Linked DNA regions of Homo sapiens: region 2 is linked to region 1. Evidence: promoter capture Hi-C in 16 types of primary human blood cells and fetal thymus (Javierre and others, 2016). All regions are on one chromosome and are shown on one strand. The core of a region is centred on a gene start or on the middle of the fragment in contact, and the rest is flanking DNA. Distances in the headings are between cores, read along the strand shown.

Region 1 (4,655 bases), core at 1,275-3,774:
GTGGTGGCATGTGCTTGTAGCCCCAGCTACTCAGGAGGTTGAGGTGGGAGGATCACTTGAGCCTGGGAGGTCGAGGCTGCAGTGAGCTATGATTGTGCCACTGTACTCCGACCTGGGTGATAAAGTGACATCCTACCTCTAGAAAAAACAAACTGAAAAAGCTTGGTCCCTCCATTTCAAATACTGAGATTTCATAGATGAAACTACTTCAGAAGTCTATTGAACCCTCCTCTATCAAGGCAATCACATTTTCATTCAGCTTCTGGGGGGGAAATGCCTACTACAAATGCCATCCGTGATTGAATGGAAGCAAATCATTTTGGGGACAATTCTGATTTTAGTGGCAAGGAGGTATCTGAGCTAAGAGCTGCCGGGAGGACTCTCACCCATGAGAAAACCAGCCCTCCAGGTCATTCCTATACTTCACTGTCAAATCTCCCTTTGCCTGTTCCGGCAGCTTTATTCATAATAGACAAAGATTGGAAACATCCCAAACCCCCTTCAGCAGGAGACCGATATACACATTGTGTGTGGTATGTGCCTATCACGCAATAGGACTCAGTGCTTCGAACAGGGCGGGAGGTGGGAGGACAAGCGAGGATGAGCGTGGAGTCCTCACATGGCAGAAAGGCAGAGGATCAAGCCAGCCCACTCCTGCAAGCCCTTTCTACGGCATCCCAAATACATTCATGACTCAAATACCCCCACAAAGGCCCCACCTCCCAACACTGTTGCAATAAAGATTACATTTCCAATGCTTGAATTTAGGGGGACACTAACTACCACATTTCTTGCTAACATACACATCTCTTTAGGGAAGGTCTTTGGACATCACTTTTTTTTTTAAGACAGGATCTTGTTCTGTTACCCAGTCTGGGGTGCAGTGGTGCGATCACAGCTCACTGCAGCCTCAAACTCCTGGGCTCAGTTGATCCTCCCATCTCAGCCTCCCAAGCACCTGGGACTACAGGTGTGCATCACCACGCCCAGCTATTGTTTGTATTTTTTTTTTTTTGTAGAGACAGGGTTTTGTCATGTTGCCCAGGCTGGTTGGACATCATATTTTGAGCACATTTCTGGCTGTTTTTAAGATTACATTCCTAGGAATGTTGGTGAATTGATGGGGGACAAAAACATTTGTTTCCCCTTGAGAGGCAATGGTACAGGGGAGGGGTTAAGAGCATAGACCCTAGGATCACATTGCCTAGGGTTGAATACTAGCTCTGCCACTTACTGGCTACAAGACCCTGGACAAGTCACTTCCTCTCTGTCTCTGTAAATGAGCATAATAGCAGCACCTGCCTCAGGGGGTTGTTGAATAGGTTCAATGAGCTAATATATAAGAAACACATGGTATATGCTATAAAGTGTTGTCTTCTTTTCCTTCTCCTCCTCCGCTCCCTGGGATTATTACCATAATGATACAATTATCATTTGTTCTTTCTGTAAAATGGAGTTTGATGTTGGAGCTGCTTCCTAGGCAGTCAGGCAGGGCAGTCACTGAGAATGAGGACGGCGTTTCTGACTCAGCTGTGGGCGGGCAGCTGCAGTGACACAGCTGAGTCTTGGCAAACACTTTTCATGTACGAAGCCTGACCCTGGAGTCTTGAGGCTGAACTTTTCACCAACAAACAGGAATGCATTCATGAATGTTACCTCTGGGTGCTGTCCTCTGGAAGCCATCTGCATAGCCTAACTCTGCCACCCTGGCTTGGACAATTATGGTGATTTCTCTGATGCCCCTGATACTACCACCTCAATCTGAATTTAGCAGCTCCCTTCACATATGGTTAGATTGCCTTTAAAGAGATTTTTTTTTTTTTTAGAGATGGGGTCTCACTATGTTGCCCAGGCTGGTCTTGAACTTGTGGGTGGGCTCAAGCAATCCTCCCACCTCAGCCTCCCAAAGTGCTGGGACCACAGGTGTGAGTCACTGCACCCGGCCTAGATGTCCTTTTTCAAACGTAAGCAATCATGCTCAGGTTTAGGATTATTCGTGCCTGGGTCCCCCTCCCATACTGAATTGCTATGGACAGCCAGCTAGTCTTCATCCTGCACCCCCCAGCCCCTGTGCAGCGTTAATGAGCCAGAAACGCTGATTCTGCTGCTGAGTTCCGTGGAACCCCCTGGGGCATTTTCCTGACTACCCCCAGTGTGGCCAATCCGTGTCCACTGAGGATGAATGTGACTCCAGGAAAATACATGAAGTAACTCTGTGCCAAGCTTGGTGAATGAATTGAGCCATGCCAATTCTGTGCTATAAATAAATTTACAAGACTGGTTTTCTTGCGTGGCTCATAAGCCAGGTCTAGCTGCCACTCCCCCAGAAGTCTTCCAAAAAGTATTTTGAGCAGGACCTTTAGACTGGGGTGTTGGAGTCCCAAGGCCAAGGCCGACCGCGCTGCTCTGGGCCCAGCGGGCGTTCCCACACGGGGCTGTAATGCCACGATTGGCCGCAGGAGGGGGGCCGTATTCCAGACCCCATTGCAGAAGCCTCCGCAACTGCTCCAAGAACTTTATTTTATACGGACTGGCGGCGAGAGCAGCTGCAGTTCGCATCTCAGGCAGTACCTAGAGGAGCTGCCGGTGCCTCCTCAGAACATCTCCTGATCGCTACCCAGGACCAGGCACCAAGGACAGGGAGTCCCAGGCGCACACCCCCCATTCTGGGTCCCCCAGGCCCAGACCCCCACTCTGCCACAGGTTGCATCTTGACCTGGTCCTCCTGCAGAAGTGGCCCCTGTGGTCCTGCTCTGAGACTCGTCCCTGGGCGCCCCTGCAGCCCCTTTCTATGACTCCATCTGGATTTGGCTGGCTGTGGGGACGCGGTCCGAGGGGCGGCCTGGCTCTCAGCGTGGTGGCAGCCAGCTCTCTGGCCACCATGGCAAATGCTGAGATCTGAGGGGACAAGGCTCTACAGCCTCAGCCAGGGGCACTCAGGTGAGTCTTGGTACTAATTTTGTCCTATCTCCTGGGCATGCTGTCTCAAAGACAGCTGGAGGAGACTGGAGTGAACTGGATGGAGAGGAGTACAGAGTTTGGGAAACTTCAGACCTAGAGCCTGGAGGTGCCTTCTCCAGGTGGGAAGGTCCCCGCCTGCTGGGCCCGCAGATATCTGCCGGGCCCTCATCCAACTGCCTGGGCTGGAGAGAATGTGAGCCTGCATTTGGGGTGCCAGAGGGAAGCTATTGCCTTGGTGGCTACTCCACCTGACTCATGTCACAGCTCAAGAGCCTACTCAGGGTGCAGATGGCTCAGGTGACAGCTCCTCTCCATGGCTTCGTGTGTGTGCATGTGTGTGTGTGCATGTGTGTGTGTGCATGTGTGTGTGTGTGCATGTGTGTGTGTGTGCATGTCTGTGCGTGTGCATGTGCCAGTGGTGGGATATATGTGGGGAGAGGTTATTTCTAAAATATCTGTCTCTGTCCAGCTTTGGGTTATGATTTAGCTTAACTAAGTACAGTTAGAGGAGGAAAACATTTAAAACCTCCTTAGTGATTCTCTCTTTGGAGAAGGGCCACACTCATGTGATTTTTTTCCTTGGTTTTGATGAGTTTAAAGTGAGGTAATCCAAAGAAAAGCCATAAACCCTGCAGAGTTAGATGCGGGTACCCAGAGAAACTGACTTGGTAGCAGCAAATGAGGCTCGTGCTACCCACTCAGAGGAGGAATTAATGGAGTCCTTCTGATCTCCAGAGAAGGATTGAAGAGCCAGGGTCCTGATATCAGCCCTAGAGTGCATTCGCGATTGCCTTTTACAAAGGGAACTTCAAACAGCTTTGTTTCTGAGACTGGCTAGGTAGGAGGGAGGCCTTGGGAACCTGGACACCCCCTTACCTGGCTGCCAGGCAGAGTCAGAAGATGCTGGGGGATGCTTTTTCTCATCAGACTGCCACCAGCTCCCCTGAGTGACCTTGTTCATAAAGTCATGCCACATGCATTATCTCACGGGAGGCTCACAGTGATCCTGGGTGACCAGCAGCTACCCACCTTCCCATCTTAGAGGTCATGTACCTGAGGCTGAATGAGGTCAGGTAATTGAGCCAAGTTCCCCCAAGAAACCAATACGCAGAGGAGCTAGGATGGGAGCCCTTGGCTTCTGTGTTCCCTGCATTCCTGCAGAGAGCCAGGCCTGCAGGGCGCAGATGGCCCCAGGGCACAGGGCTGCAGGGCACAGATGGCTGAGGGCTTTTCCAGCTCTAAAATGCAGAATCTAGAAGCAGATCCCTGGCTCTGAACCTGCCCTTCTAAGTGCCTTGGGTGAAATTGTCTGGAAGTAAATCATGATTGCCAAGAGGTTAGTGGAGAGGGTGACACCTCCCTGTTAGAGCAAGACCTCCCTCTTTGAGTTGCAAGTTGAGGTCCAGTCTCCTTGGGCTTCATCCACAGGTCACTGTGGCTTCCACATCTCGCCCATGTGCTTCAAGCTCTCAGAGCCCTGCCTCAGTCCCAGGATCCCCACCTGCTGGAGTACACTGGCTGGCAGTCTGAGGTGGGATTCTCTTCTCTGCCTGATCTGGGGCCCAGAAAGTGGTCACCAAAGGGGCTGACATGCAATTCCCAAACAAAGCAACCCTGCAGCTGAGCCAGTGCCCTGTGTAGGAAAACTGTGCCCGGGGCCTCTTCCCGCTCTGATATCCATTCCTTCCTTTGCC
Region 2 (4,655 bases), core at 852-3,351, 330 kb before region 1:
TTTTTTGTAAGGATCCACATTTTTAGCAAGATTCCCAGGTGACTTGTATCCATGCCAAAGTTTGGGAAGTGCTGGTATGAGAAGGACGTGAACAAAGGAGGGACCTGCAGCTGAGCCCACCCCAGTTCTTCTTGTGCGTCATCAAAGCATTTCATACCCAGAGGATGATGACTACTGGGGTGCTCAATAAGTGTTTGTTAAATCAATGAATTGACTTTTTGTTTGTTTGAGATGGTCTCGCTCTGTTGCCCAGGCTGGTGTGCAGTGGTGCAATCACGGCTCACTGAAGCGTTGAACTCCTGGGCGCAAGCAATCCTCCCACCTCAGCCTCCCAAGTAGCTGGGAGGATTGTTTGAGCCCAGGATGCTTGGTTAGTTTTTAAATTTTTAGCAGAAATGAGGTCTCGCCATGTTGCCTAGGCTGGTCTCGAACTCCTGGCCTCAAATGTTCCTCCCACCTTAGCCTCCCAAAGTGTTGGGATTACAGGCATAAGTCACTGCACCTGGCCAATGAACTCACATTTGAGACGGGTTTTGAAACAAATAATGAACACAGTGCCTACATAAATGACTGTATCGCAAATGCATTTGAGATTAATTTTTCTTCTCTATCCCAAGGACCAGGGCTTTAGTTGAGATTTATTGCCTTGGTTATTGTAATAGCCTCCTAATTAGTCCACCTAATGATCTGGCTTCCCCCCAAGCCATCTCCAATCTGATGATGTCACCTTATATTTAAACTAATTTTATAACCTTGTTGCTGTCAGGGGGAGCTCCAAGGACTTAGCACTGACCAACTCCTGCTTCATCTCCTGGCACCTAACCTTGCATAGCCTCTAGTCTCAGCCGATCACGTGTAGCTCCCAACTGTATCAGCCTCTTAATGTCTTTCTTTTTTTTTTTTTTCTTTTTCTTTTTTTTTTTTTTGAGACAGAGTCTCACTCTGTCGCCCAGGCTGGAGTGCAGTGGCGCGATCTCGACTCACTGCAAACTCCGCCTCTTAAGTTTAAGTGATTCTCATGCCTCAGCCTCCTGAGTAGCAAGATTACAGGTGCACACCACCACATCCAGCTAATTTTTGTGTTTTTAGTAGAGACGGGGCTTCACATGTTGGCCAGGCTGGTCTTGAACTCCTCACCTCAAGTGATCTGCCTGCCTCGGCCTCCCAAAGTGCTGGGATTACAGACATGAGCCACTGTGCCTGGCTTCTTAATGTCTTTTTATCTTGGCACTTGCTGTTCCCTCTGCCCAGAATATCCTTCTCCAACTCATCCTTCACACACACCTCTAGCATCATCCCTTCTGGGAAGCCATGTCCACCCCCTGGTCTGAGTTAGATCAGTCTCCTCTGCTGCCCTGGCATCTGGAAGAGCACATCATAGTGGGAGGCCAGCGAGCCTCGGGGGCCCCATCTATCAACACAGGCACAACAGACCCACGCTGCAGAGTGGCGGTGATATGCGCTTTCTCATCTGCTAATGACTACAGACTGCCTGCTTCCGATCACAGCTCTGAAGCTTGCTAGCTGTACTTGACCTCTCATTTCCTCATCTGCAAAAATGGGATGAAATTAGTACCTATCTCAGAGGATGATTAGTGGGTTAACGTTTGTAAGCAATTAAAATAGAACTGACAGGCAATAAGAATATATACGAAAGGAAAAGAAGGAAAGAACCTGGCATGCAGCATTCACTCTAACACTCTTTTTTGTTTTTTGAGACGATGTTTCACTCTGTTGCCCAGGCTGGAGTACAGTGGCACAACCTTGGCTCACTGCAACCCACACCTCCCAGGTTCAAGCAATTCTCTTGCCTCAGCCTCCTCAGTAGCTGGGACTCCAGGAGTGCACCACCACCCCCAGCTAATTTTTGTATTATTAGTAGAGATGGGTTTCACCATGTTGGCCAAGCTGGTCTCGAACTCCTGACCTCAGGTGATCCTCCCGCTTCGGCCTCCCCAAGTGCTGGGATTACAGACATGAGCCACCATGCCTGGCCTTACATTTCTCATTCTACTAAGTTTCCGTCTTTCTAGACATTTTTGTAGAATTTGTTCCAAACAGCGTGGCTGTGCCCTCTACAGCCACATGGTGGCAGTGGCTATACGTCGCAGAAGAAAGGGAAGGGAGGAGAAAAGGAGCCGTTTCCTTTCCTTCCTAATATGAGGTTGTAATACAGAATGTGTGCATAGGCTGAGCTGACAAACTGTGACAGATGTTAGCAAAATGCTCTCTGGCTGAGGTTTTTTGTGAACTTCATTAACTGGGGCAACTTGCATGTTCAGGAAATGTTGGCTGGTTTGACTGATGCTTGCCAAAATCTGGGTAAATGGGATTTAAGGGCGAGGTATAAAAGGAAGATGAGCTTCTGGGACACGTAGTACATGTTCCATTTGATAGTCTTCCTGCAGGTGAAATGTGAGGCCCTGCAGCTTGGCACTTAGGGAGACCTTGTTGAGTGTCCTTGGCTCTAGCCAGGACCTCCCTGTGGGTCAGAGGCACGTCTACCTTTCGGACTCCAACCTCCCGACCCTTCTCTGTCTCCCCTCACTTTTAACAATTGACTCCACTGATTATTTGAGGAGCCATCCATATTCAATGCTATCCATTCCCCCCTGCAATTCACAGAATCTGCAAAATGGAGATGACCACATAGTTCCATCCACCCTACAGGTGGCTTGCAAGCTTTAAAATGAGATTAATGTCAGTGAAAACTCAAAATTATGTAAATATCGTTATAGAGACAGCATTCTGTATTTTCTCATACACTTCCCAACACCTACTACAACTGTGTTCTAGGTTAAATCAGATTTTGAACTTTGAAAACTCAGTAGATGTTTTTCATTTGTAAGAAGTCTTGACTATATCTCCATGCTGGATGATGTTCTGTATTTAAATGGAGATGAGTACTTAGTTAATTCACGAGTTGTATTTGTGTTTAAACCTTACACTGTGGACCTGTGTGACTGCAGACAAGTCCTGAGATGGTCAGTCCTTTCAACTACAAAGTGGGGATAATAACAGGTTTGTTGTTACATTGATGCTGAAACTTTATACTTTGTAACGGTGGGACTGTGTGCAAATTATTTCACTTCTGTGAGCCTCAGTCTTCTCAACTGTGAAATGGGAATAGTGACAGGTTGTTGCTATTTTTATACAACCATAGCAAACATCAGTAAATCAAAAGTTACCTGAGTAGGCTGAATTTTCCATGGCTTGTATTTCACTTCGTGAGCCAAGCTCAGCTAATACTTCTATGTGGCAATACTATATTCTGAGCGTCTCATATTGAATAAAGAAATGTTGAATTGCCTTTTCTTTTGGTAATGACACCTCATAAATTTAATTGTGCCTTGCTGTTTATAAAGATAAAATACCACTATGGCTTGGCCTTAATCGATTTGCATGTAATCTTGCTTCCAAGGGCAATATAATTAGTTGCTTATCTGTTTGGAGAATCACATATGCAGCTTTAGCCGAAGCTGGACCCTAATTGAGTTTTGTCTTATGACCTATTCGAAGTCCTGTAATTTTGATGCTGCCAGCAGAGAAGAGGGGACTGCTCTTGCTAGAGGCAGATACACCTCCATCCTTTTCATCAACCACATGTAGAGAATATTCTTGACAGGTTACCAAAAAATTTTATATTCATATATTATACAACCCTGTAATCTAGGGTTAATATCAACCCACCTTTTAAAATGAACATAAACTCTTAGAGGTTAAGCAAGTTGACTAGGATCATCCGGTTTATAAGTAGCAGAGCCAGGACTTAAACTCAGGTGTGTTGACTTCAAACCATGTGTTCTGGGAAACCATCAACTTTACACACTGTTTCTGCTTTTGGAAGATTGCCAGATTCTGATGGCATCTCATTGCGGTGGAATCTATTTGCATTTCATAGCAATCATATTGCTATGACTTTAGAGCACTATGAGCCAGGCTTTGCGCTAATTGCTTTATAAGCATCACCCTATGGGGTAAGTGCTATCATCCCCATTTTATAGTTGAGCAGATTGAGGCTTGAGGAGCTGATGTAACTTGAAGTGGCAGAGCTGGGACTTATGTCTGACCCTGCCTGTCAGTGATCCCAGCAGCTGTCTTCATGTAGGGCTTCCTCTTGTCCTGAAGTCTGTACTCCCTGTCTGATGACAACCTTTTTTATTTACTTCTTATTTTTTATTTTTTGGAGATGGAGTCTCGCTCTGTTGCCCAGGCTGGAGTTCAGTGGCGCTATCTTGGCTTACTGCAAACTCTGCCTCCTGGGTTCAAATGATTCTCCCGCCTCAGCCTCCTGAGTAGCTGGGATTACAGGTGCCCGCCACCATGCCTGGCTAATTTTTTTTGTATTTTTAGTAGAGACGGGGTTTCACCACGTTGGTCAGTCTGGTCTCAAACTCCTGACCTCGAATGATCCTCCCGCCTCAGCCTCCCTAAGGTGCTGGGATTACAGGCATGAGCCACTGTGCCGGGGCTGATGACAACCTCTTTATGGTGGCTTCTCTCCAGTCCACACAGGGATCCTTCATTATGCACCAGCTGCATGTCCATCAGAAGATAGGTGGGTCTTCCCGATGCCCCATTTCTTAGACCCATTGCAGATAAGACTCCTACAATGGAGCTTATGCTTGTTTACCAGCTATTATGGAGAGAGGCTG

Evidence for each region. Contacts are between HindIII fragments. The CHiCAGO score rates a contact against its expected background, and 5 or more counts as called.
Region 2: a contact is called between a fragment that was not itself captured here and the fragment with the promoter of SCARA5 in region 1, in 1 of 17 cell types (M1 macrophages). The highest score is 5.1, in M1 macrophages.

Annotation. Positions count from the first base shown.
Region 1 is chr8:27,990,542-27,995,196 of GRCh38, reverse strand. It overlaps SCARA5 (scavenger receptor class A member 5), which reads left to right and starts at 2,524. Exons shown (of 9, transcript NM_173833.6): 1 at 2,524-2,940. The HindIII fragment of the contact is 6,163 bases long and covers 2,226-4,655 here.
Region 2 is chr8:28,321,923-28,326,577 of GRCh38, reverse strand. All of the region lies in intron 1 of PNOC (prepronociceptin), which reads right to left. Among named protein-coding and RNA genes, the nearest start is that of PNOC, 7.0 kb to the right of the region's middle. The HindIII fragment of the contact is 1,166 bases long and covers 1,519-2,684 here.